Linked DNA regions of Homo sapiens: region 1 is linked to region 2. Evidence: promoter capture Hi-C in 16 types of primary human blood cells and fetal thymus (Javierre and others, 2016). All regions are on one chromosome and are shown on one strand. The core of a region is centred on a gene start or on the middle of the fragment in contact, and the rest is flanking DNA. Distances in the headings are between cores, read along the strand shown. Region 1 holds the start of RNF19B (ring finger protein 19B). Region 2 holds the start of SYNC (syncoilin, intermediate filament protein).

Region 1 (4,580 bases), core at 179-2,678, 260 kb before region 2:
GATGGTCTCCATCTCCTGACCTCGTGATCCGCCAGCCTGGGCCTCCCAAAGTGCTGGGATTACAGGCGTGAGCCTCCGCGCCCAGCCCCAAGGCAGTCTTCTTAAAAGGAAGAGGATGCATCTTTCTTCCCTTTTTCCTTCCCACTGTTTGGAATATGGACCATAGTGAGGTGACCTTAACACTGGAAGCCAAATACTGAGGATGGCTGAACAGCCCTGAACTGCCTACTTTTGGACTTATATTTCATGGAAAGAGAGAAATTTCTGGCTAGGTGCAGCGGCTCATGCCTGTAATCCCAGCACTTTGAGAGGCCAAGGCAGGAGGATCGCTTGAGCCCAGGAGCTCGAGACCAGCCTGAGCAACACAGGGAGATTTCATCTCCATGAAAAAAATAAAAATAATAGGCAGGCCTGGTGGCGCACCTGTGCTCCCAGCTACTCCAGAGGTTGGGGTGGGAGGATCGCTTAAGCTTGGGAGGTTGAGGCTTCAGTGAGCTGTGATCACGCCACTGCACTCCAACCTGGGTGACAGAGCAAAACCGTCTCAGGAAAAAAAATAAATAAATTTCAATCGTAAGCTATTTTTTTCTTTTGTTATTTGCAATTGAATGTAATCCTGATACATTCCTGTTGTTGAAGCTGTTTGCCTGCCTCCCACTAGGAAGCCTAAGGGTCCAGATCCTCCCCCAGTCAGAGGAATGGGGAACTAGAAAAAGAAAGGCAAAGGCACTGCCAGGCAAGAAAACGCTGGGTCTCCTTCCACAAGTTTGGTAAGTAAGCAAGATACCAGGAGGATAGAATGGTAAGTGAGCCTAGAAATAGACTATTATATACATAGGGTTTATTAAATACATAGAGAACACTGAATGCTAGACTAAGAAATTTGGACTTTATTCTGGAAGTCCCTTGCAATAGGGGACCTTGTCTGTTTTATTTTCTAATGCCTCGCACTTTGTAGAAGCTCAGTGAATGAATATATTCTTTATTAATTTATGCCGTCTGCTTAATAAACAGAAATGTTGGAAGGTGAACCAGTTGGGAGTCACCATCTGATCAACCCCTGCCTGCTTTTTATAAATAATGTAACTGAACCATCATTTACTGGAAGTGGCAATCAACCTGTGAGGAACGGCAAACCAAAAAGTCCACCTTGGGTGTCATGGTGATGGAATTGGAGGCGGAGACCAGGGAGAGCAGCGGGCTAGGATCTCTGAGAGTCTCCGCAACATGGCGGCCCTGGAACCACCTGACCGGCAGGAGGCGGAGCTCCGCCCCAGCTCGCTCGGCCCCACCCCGCTCGGCCCTGCCCAGCGCACTCCTAGACCGGGGCGCAAGGGTTGTGAGGTGTTTGAGCGAAGCGCCTGCGCAGGGCAGCGGCGCGCGGGGCGGAGGCTTTATAATCACTTCGTCGTTGCCGCTCGGCTTCTATCGCCGGGAGGGCGGTTGAGGCGGTGGTGGCGGCGTCGGCGGCGGCCGGGCGCTGGCTGAGGGGCGCTGAGGCGGGAGCTGTGGCGGCGCTGGGCGCCCCTGGCTCCTCGGCCTCTGCCGGCCATGGGCTCCGAGAAGGACTCCGAGTCGCCGCGCTCCACATCGCTACATGCGGCCGCACCCGACCCTAAGTGCCGCAGCGGCGGCCGGCGCCGGCGCCTCACCTTGCACAGCGTCTTCTCTGCCTCGGCCCGCGGCCGCCGCGCCCGGGCCAAGCCGCAGGCCGAGCCGCCGCCCCCGGCTGCGCAGCCGCCGCCCGCCCCGGCCCCTGCCGCGGCCCAGGGCCCGCCGCCCGAGGCGCTGCCCGCCGAGCCGGCCGCCGAGGCCGAGGCGGAGGCCGCGGCGGCGGCGGCGGAGCCTGGGTTCGACGATGAGGAGGCGGCGGAGGGCGGTGGCCCGGGCGCGGAGGAGGTGGAGTGTCCGCTGTGCCTGGTGCGGCTGCCGCCTGAGCGGGCCCCGCGCCTCCTCAGCTGTCCGCACCGCTCGTGCCGGGACTGCCTCCGCCACTACCTGCGCCTGGAGATAAGCGAGAGCAGGGTGCCCATCAGCTGCCCCGAGTGCAGCGAGCGACTCAACCCGCACGACATCCGCTTGCTGCTCGCCGACCCGCCGCTTATGCACAAGTACGAGGAGTTCATGCTGCGCCGCTACCTAGCCTCGGACCCCGACTGCCGCTGGTGCCCGGCCCCGGACTGCGGGTGAGCGCGGGGGCGTGGCGCGGGTGGCGGCGGGCTGCAGCCGAGGGGCGTGGCTGGGGGCAGCAGGGACCCCGCGTGGGTGTCCCAAGCAGGGAAACCCGCAAGGCGGCAGCTTCGGCGGGGTGGTAACCATCAGGCAAGCCCAGACTAGTGGTGTGAACGCACCCGACACCCCGCCCCCTGCCCCAGGGCTCGAGGTGGCTGCTAAGCATTCGGTGAGGGGAAGGGAGCTGTCCAAGTTAGGAGACAGGGAGAGGCGGTTTTTTTGTTGGGGGAATGCCCTCTGTCCGGAGGTGAGGACAGTATCTTTTTTTTTTTTTCTTTTTTTTTTTGGAGACGGAGTCTCGCCCTGCCGCCCAGGCTGGAGTGCAATGGCGCGATCTCGGCTCACTGCAACCTCCGCCTCTCAGGTTCAAGCGATTCTCCTGCCTCAGCCTCCCGAGTAGCTGGGATTACAGGCGCCCGCCACCACACCCGGCTAATTTCTTTGTATTTTTAGTAGAGATGGGGTTTCACCATGTTGGCTAGGCTGGTCTCGAACTCCTGACCTCAGGTGATCCTCCTGCCTCGGCCTCCCAAAGTGCTGGGATTACAGGCGTGAGCCACCGCTCCCGGCCAAGGTGGGGAGTATCTCTTAATGAGAGTGGGGAGGGGATATTTGGCCAAGGAGGGAATGAGAATATTCTGAGGGGGCAGCGCGTCGGAGGGGTGTGTCCACTTGGCTAGGGACAGACTTAGCATTGCAGAAGAAGGCGTGTTCTCCCTGACAACCACCGCTGAAAGTTGGGATGGAGGTGACTGGGGAATAGGCTCTCGGGTACCCTGAGCACTATGTGTTCTGTGCCACGCTATCGGGAGGCACTCTGTCGTTCTTACCTTGCTGCCTTGGGTAGGGTGAGGGGTAGACAGATATGTTCTTTGTCCAGAGTCTCAATGGGGGCACTGAGAAGAATGCCCAGAGGTTGGTGTGATAGGAGAAATTGTGTTTCTGAACCCCTTTGATCTTGAGTTCTTGATGACAGTCTTTTTAATGCACCATGTAGGCTGAATTTTAAAGGGCAGTAAATTAAAATATGCAATATCTGCAGAGACATAATACACCAGATTTTGCTATCTGAAGCATTCAGTGGAGACCTTCCTCGCCCTCCCCGCCTTTAGAAGTCTAATTGTTACTGTCAGTATATCCCATGAAGGGGTTGCACGCAGGAAGAGGGGCTCATTTAAGTAGTTGGGAGTCAGACAGCCATTACCTGTTCTGTGACCTTGGGCAGATAATTTTATTCTTGTGTGTCATGTTTTGGCGACAAAAAGATGCTGGGGAGTCCTTGCAGTGTGTAAACGTAATGCTAGTAAAAAGTTGTGTGATCTTTAGCTTCAAAGGAGTTAAGGACTTTTAATTGTAGCCTATATATCAAGGTGGTTTTGAAATCTCCATGATGCTGCTGGTTGTCTCCTTTCAAAAGGAGCTGTCTTAGAGTGTCTAGGAGAGTAAGAAGAGTTAACTTCTGTTTTTAATTCTGCCAAACTTGTTTAGAAATGGGTGTGCTATTTAACCTCACTGAGATGGGGTTTCTAAATTACTTTGAAGTGTTGTGGTCAAAGGAATGGTGTTTATGGTGGCTCACTTTCACTTTCAGTTAATAAGTATCAGGAAGGACCTTTTAGGTTCATGGAACTGTCTATGTCTAGTGATCTTACTGGCCCTCTGAGGTTAATTTATATTAAAGTTTTACAGATACTGTTGATCTGTTTTCTTAACCAAACGAATATTAAGAGAACACAGGCCAGGCTCGGTGGCTCACGCCTATAGTCCTAGCATTCTGGGAGACCAAGGTGGGTGGATCACCTGAGGTCGGGAGCTCAAGACCAGCCTGGCCAACATAGTGGTATCCTGTCTCTGCTAAAAATAGAAAAATTAGCCGGGCATGGTGGTGCACACCTGTAGTCCCAGCTACCCAGGAGGCTGAGGCAGAATCGCTTGAACCTGTGAGGCAGAGGTGCAGTGAGCCGAGATCAGGCCACTATACTCCAGCCTGGGTGACAGAGCGAGATTCTGTCTCAAGAAAAAAAAAAAACAAAACACTGCATAGTTAATTTTGGAATAGTACATTAACTCCTTTCTGAGATGTTTCCTTGAGTTCTAAGAAATGTGGCAGATCATCTTTCTGGAAAAGGTCCCTGTTTGTTTTTTTATTTTTCTAAAGTCAGTTTCTGTCTTTGCTCACATCAATAAAAATGCACAGAAAATAATTTTCAAGCTTGGTGACAACTCTCAACTATTTGGAAGTTATTAAAAAATTAGGCCATTTCTTATTTTAGCCAAGTATTATGTTAGTATCCTCCAGATTTTATTTTTTTAATTAGTTAGAAGAATGATAATCATATATATAGTTA
Region 2 (4,233 bases), core at 1,268-3,767:
TGCAGGCACCTGTAGTCCCAGCTACTCCGGAGGCTGAGGCAGGAGAATGGCCTGAACCCAGGAGGCGGAGCTTGCAGTGAGCTGAGATTGCACCACTGCACTCCAGCTTGGGCAACAGAGTGAGACTCCGTCTCAAAAAAAAAAGAAAGAAAATGAATAGTATTGTTGCAGATTGATAAGTGCTGCACAGAAAATAAACAGGGTGACAGGGATAAACAGTAAATGGGGTGAGGCATGGTGGCTCCTGCTTGTAATCCCAGCACTTTGGGAGGCTGAGTCTGGAGGATCCCTTGAGGCCAGGAGTTTGAGATCAGCCTTAACAACATAGTGAGACCCCATCTCTATTAAATAAAATTTTACAAAACCCAACAAAACAAAAAAGCCCATAACAAAAAAATAAATGGGTGGACATTATGGGCAGGGGGTGGGGAGGCATCAGAGAAGGCCTCTGTGAGATGTGATCTGAGACCTGAAGGAGAGTAAAAGGTGGGCTGTGAAGAGCTGGAAAGGGTTTTCTAGGCAGAGGGAGCAGCAGAAAAGGCCTGGCTGGGTGTGGTGGCTCACTCCTGTAATCCCAGCACTTTGGGAGGCTGAGGTAGGAGGACTGCTTGAGCCTAGGAGTTTGAGACCAGCCTAGGCAACACAGTGAGACCTCGTCTTTACAAAAAATACAAAAATTATCCAGGTGTGGTGGTGTGCATCTGTAGTTCCAGCTACTCGGGAGGCTGAGATGGGAGGATCACCTGAGCCCAGGAGGTTGAGGCTGCCGTGAACCATGATTGCACCACCGTACTCCTGCCTGGATGACAGAGTGAGACCCTGACTGCAAGAAACAACAGCAACAAAAAAAACAACAACAAAGGCTTGGAGGTGGGGAAGTTTCTGGGACCCTGGGGAATTCAGGGTTTCAGCCTAAAGAAGCGCTGAGCAGGAGGGTAGGAGCGGGTCAGAAATTCAGTCCTAGGGACAGCCTAAGGCCAGGTCCTGGGCTGGGGGTTGGAGGGGCAGAGCCAGCTCTTCTGAATGCCACCCTTGCCGCCTGTTGCTTGGTACCACAGCAAACAGAGCCTCTGGCAGGCCTGCCCTTGCTGCCTTAGCTCTCCTCTGGCGGGCAGCAGATGTCAAATGCCCAGCAGCTGAGGCTTCGCCAGCCTCCTCCCCTGGAATAGTTCGGGGGTAAGTCAGAAAATGACCAGCAGCCTCAAAACCTGGCTTTTTCTCGTGCGTACCTTACAAGGGTATATTTGGCTGCCCTGGGTGTTAAATCTTCCACCCCCTTGCATTAGACAGAGAAATATAAATATACAGCCACAGGCAGCACACTCAGACGCGAGGATGAATGAACATTTATCAACCCCCAGTCACGCACAAGCACACAGTCAGAGTCACAAGCGGGACCATATGCATGCCCCCCACACAGAGTCAAAACCGCCAGCCCCACAAAGACACTCCACCATGGCACAATCACCACACACATTCACCCTGAGATCACACAATCACACATCCACATGCTCACACACAGACATGTACCCCACAATCACCGCAGAGTCACACAGGGGCACACAAGCCCACACACATTCAACACCACGGCATGCTTCCCCCACCGGCCTCCCAGGCACCCCAGCCCCTGGGGCTTGTTATGGTGCCAGCATTCTTCTGCGATTGAGTCAAAGACCTCCCCAGACAGGGTAGCTAAGTGGAAAAAGGAATCCGAAGGAAGAACGCCTGAAGCCCAGGTCTGGGAAGGGGCCCAGCAGCTTCTCTCTTGGGGAGAAAGACGTCAGTGCTGGTTTGACCCTCACACTAGTGGGCTGAGGACGTGGGGGGAGGTATGTCTTGAAGTTGACAGAAGTGGGCTGAGTGGGGTGACAGGTGGAGCAGGAGAGAGACCCCAGGAAGCCTCAAAGGGTGGGGCAGAAAGTGGGGTTAAATATGGACTCAATGTGATAGGCGTAAACTCCTCCGCAGTTCTCTCTAACCCCAGCCACCCAGCCCGCCCCCAGGCTCCAGGCTGTCCCCAAACGCGCGGGGTGTGGCCGTGAACCCTCCTCCCCGGCCGCGCCCTGCCCCGCCCTTCACGACAGCTGCCGGGGACAGCCCGGAGTGCCCAGAGGGTGGCTGCGGCCCTTCCCCTCTTGGGTGGGGACCAGAGGGCGCTGAGCGGCAGCGGACACCCCCAAACACTCGCGGGAGAGGGGTGCTGGCTCCCTTTGAGCAGCCCGCCCAACCCTGCCTCCACCCTCCCAGGCTGGACAGGGAAGGTGCTCCCTGGGGCTTCAGACCCCCCTTCTGACTCCCCCTGCAACGGGACCTCACGAAAGGAAGGGTGGAGAGAAGGTTCGGGAAGACGAGGGGGCTGGGAGGTTTGGAAAGACAGCTCCAGGCCCCCGTTCCCACCCCCGCCCCAGGCTGGTCCGGGAGGGGCAGCCTCTCCCCGCCCCCAGGTCCGCGCGGCCGCTCCCTCCTCCCCCGGCAGGAGCCCCGGCCAAGTGGGCGCGCCCGGCCCGGGGCCGGCCGGGATCCGGTGTCGGTTGCAGCTGGCAGTGCGGCGGGCGCGGGCGCCGGAGCGAGGGGCCCGCGGGCCCGGCTATTAATAACGCGGCCGCCAGCCCGGGGTCGCGCAGCCATGGCCAGCCCGGAGCCCCGGCGCGGCGGGGACGGCGCCGCCCAGGCCGCGAGGTAGGACAGTGCCGGGCCCGCGTCGCCGCCCCGCTGGGGAAGGGGTGCTGCTGGACGGGTTCCCTTTCCCCCCGACCGCGGGCGTCTTTCGCCTGTCTAGGGGTAGTGGTCCAGCCGGGGTGGGGCACTGGAGCCGCCTCGTGAGGGGACATCGGGGAGTCGGGCCGTCCCGGGGTCCTGGCACCTCCGTTTGTCTGTGGCTTTTTATAATACCCCTCCCCCTCCCGGGACTACATGAAAATTAACCCTTCCAGGCGAGTGGGCATCCACCGCTCAAGTGCCATTTGGCCCATAGCAGCCAAAGACACTTCTCGCTAGCCTTCATTCCTCCCTGCAAATGTCAGTTGGAGACAGAGGCCTCCCCTGCTGAAGTGGCTGTGTGGAAGCCACTTGGTGCAAGGCTGGGCATCTGCCAGCTTGAAGTTAAGAGTCTGTCAGGGCTTGTTCTCTCCCGTCTGGCCTGGGATGGGTGGGGGAAGGGTCCAGGGGCCCTCCCCACTATCCCTCCTGGCAGGGCACGGCTGATTATTGGGGGAAGGGACCTGTGGCTGAGGGGTTTGGGGTGAGGTGTATTTCTGTCCCAGGTCATACTGTGGCTCTGGGACTTCCCAGTGTACCAAGAGGTGAGGGTGCAAATACATAGCTCCCGACACCCCTTCACTGTCACACAGGGGCACAAAGCTGAGCGGTCTTACACACACACACTCACCCATACTGCTGTCCACACCTACAGCTACAGTCAGACACACGGACTCTTGCCTGCACAATGTCACATGGACTCCCAGCCACATCCCTGAACAGGGTTGGAGAGCTCTGCGGTTCTCTGGGGACAGGGACAGAGTGGCAGAGGCAGGCTGCCCAGGGCCCAAGGAAGCCCGAGGTCAGGGGCCCCAACTAAGCTGGCTTCCTCTCCTCTGAGCCTCCTGTCATCTGCTTCTTTCCCTCCTCTCTCTGTTTAAAAGAGGCGGCTGTGTGAGGGCAGCACCCAGCAGAGGCCTGGCACCATGGGTGGGGTGGTGGAGGCAGCACGATGTGTGCTAACAGCACAGCTTGGAGGTCAGGAGGCCTGGGTTTTACTTCCAGCTTTGCCATTCGACCTTGGGCAGATTTCCTCCTTGGAGTTCATCTGGTTTCTGCCTGTCTGCCCTTACAGAGCCCCACCCTAGGATATAGAGCAGAATGAGAACTCTGCTTGTCCTTAGGAAACTCACTATCAGGGAGACAGACACATGTACTTCTGTAACTGGAGCAATAAGTGTGAAGATGTGCTGCATACAGAGTGCCCTGAGAACACACATGGGGCTGTCTGGGAGATACTTTACGGAAGAGATGAAGTTTGAGCAGGGCTTGAAGGATGAGTAGAAATTTGTTAGATAGATAGAAGTATATTGTGGGCCCGGCGCGGTGGCTCACGCCTGTAATCCCAGCACTTTGGGACGCCGAGGTGTGCGGATCACCTGAGGTCAGGAGTTCAAGACCAGCCCGGCCAACATGGTGAAACCCGGCTCTACTAAAAATACAAAAATTAGCCAGGCGTGGTGGCGTGTGCCTGTA

The links. Contacts are between HindIII fragments. The CHiCAGO score rates a contact against its expected background, and 5 or more counts as called.
Region 1: the fragment with the promoter of RNF19B here is called in contact with the fragment with the promoter of SYNC in region 2 in 2 of 17 cell types (naive CD8 T cells and M1 macrophages); the score reaches 6.0 in naive CD8 T cells.

What each region holds. Positions count from the first base shown.
Region 1 is chr1:32,961,657-32,966,236 of GRCh38, reverse strand. RNF19B (ring finger protein 19B) reads left to right here and starts at 1,428. Exons shown (of 9, transcript NM_001300826.2): 1 at 1,428-2,186. The coding sequence starts at 1,552. RefSeq lists silencers at 1,144-1,713, 2,074-2,283 and an enhancer at 1,329-1,833. The HindIII fragment of the contact is 3,974 bases long and covers 473-4,446 here.
Region 2 is chr1:32,701,054-32,705,286 of GRCh38, reverse strand. SYNC (syncoilin, intermediate filament protein) reads left to right here and starts at 2,517. Exons shown (of 5, transcript NM_030786.3): 1 at 2,517-2,679. The coding sequence starts at 2,627. RefSeq lists silencers at 1,968-2,057, 2,108-2,157 and enhancers at 1,518-2,283, 2,284-3,049. The HindIII fragment of the contact is 11,042 bases long and covers 1-4,233 here.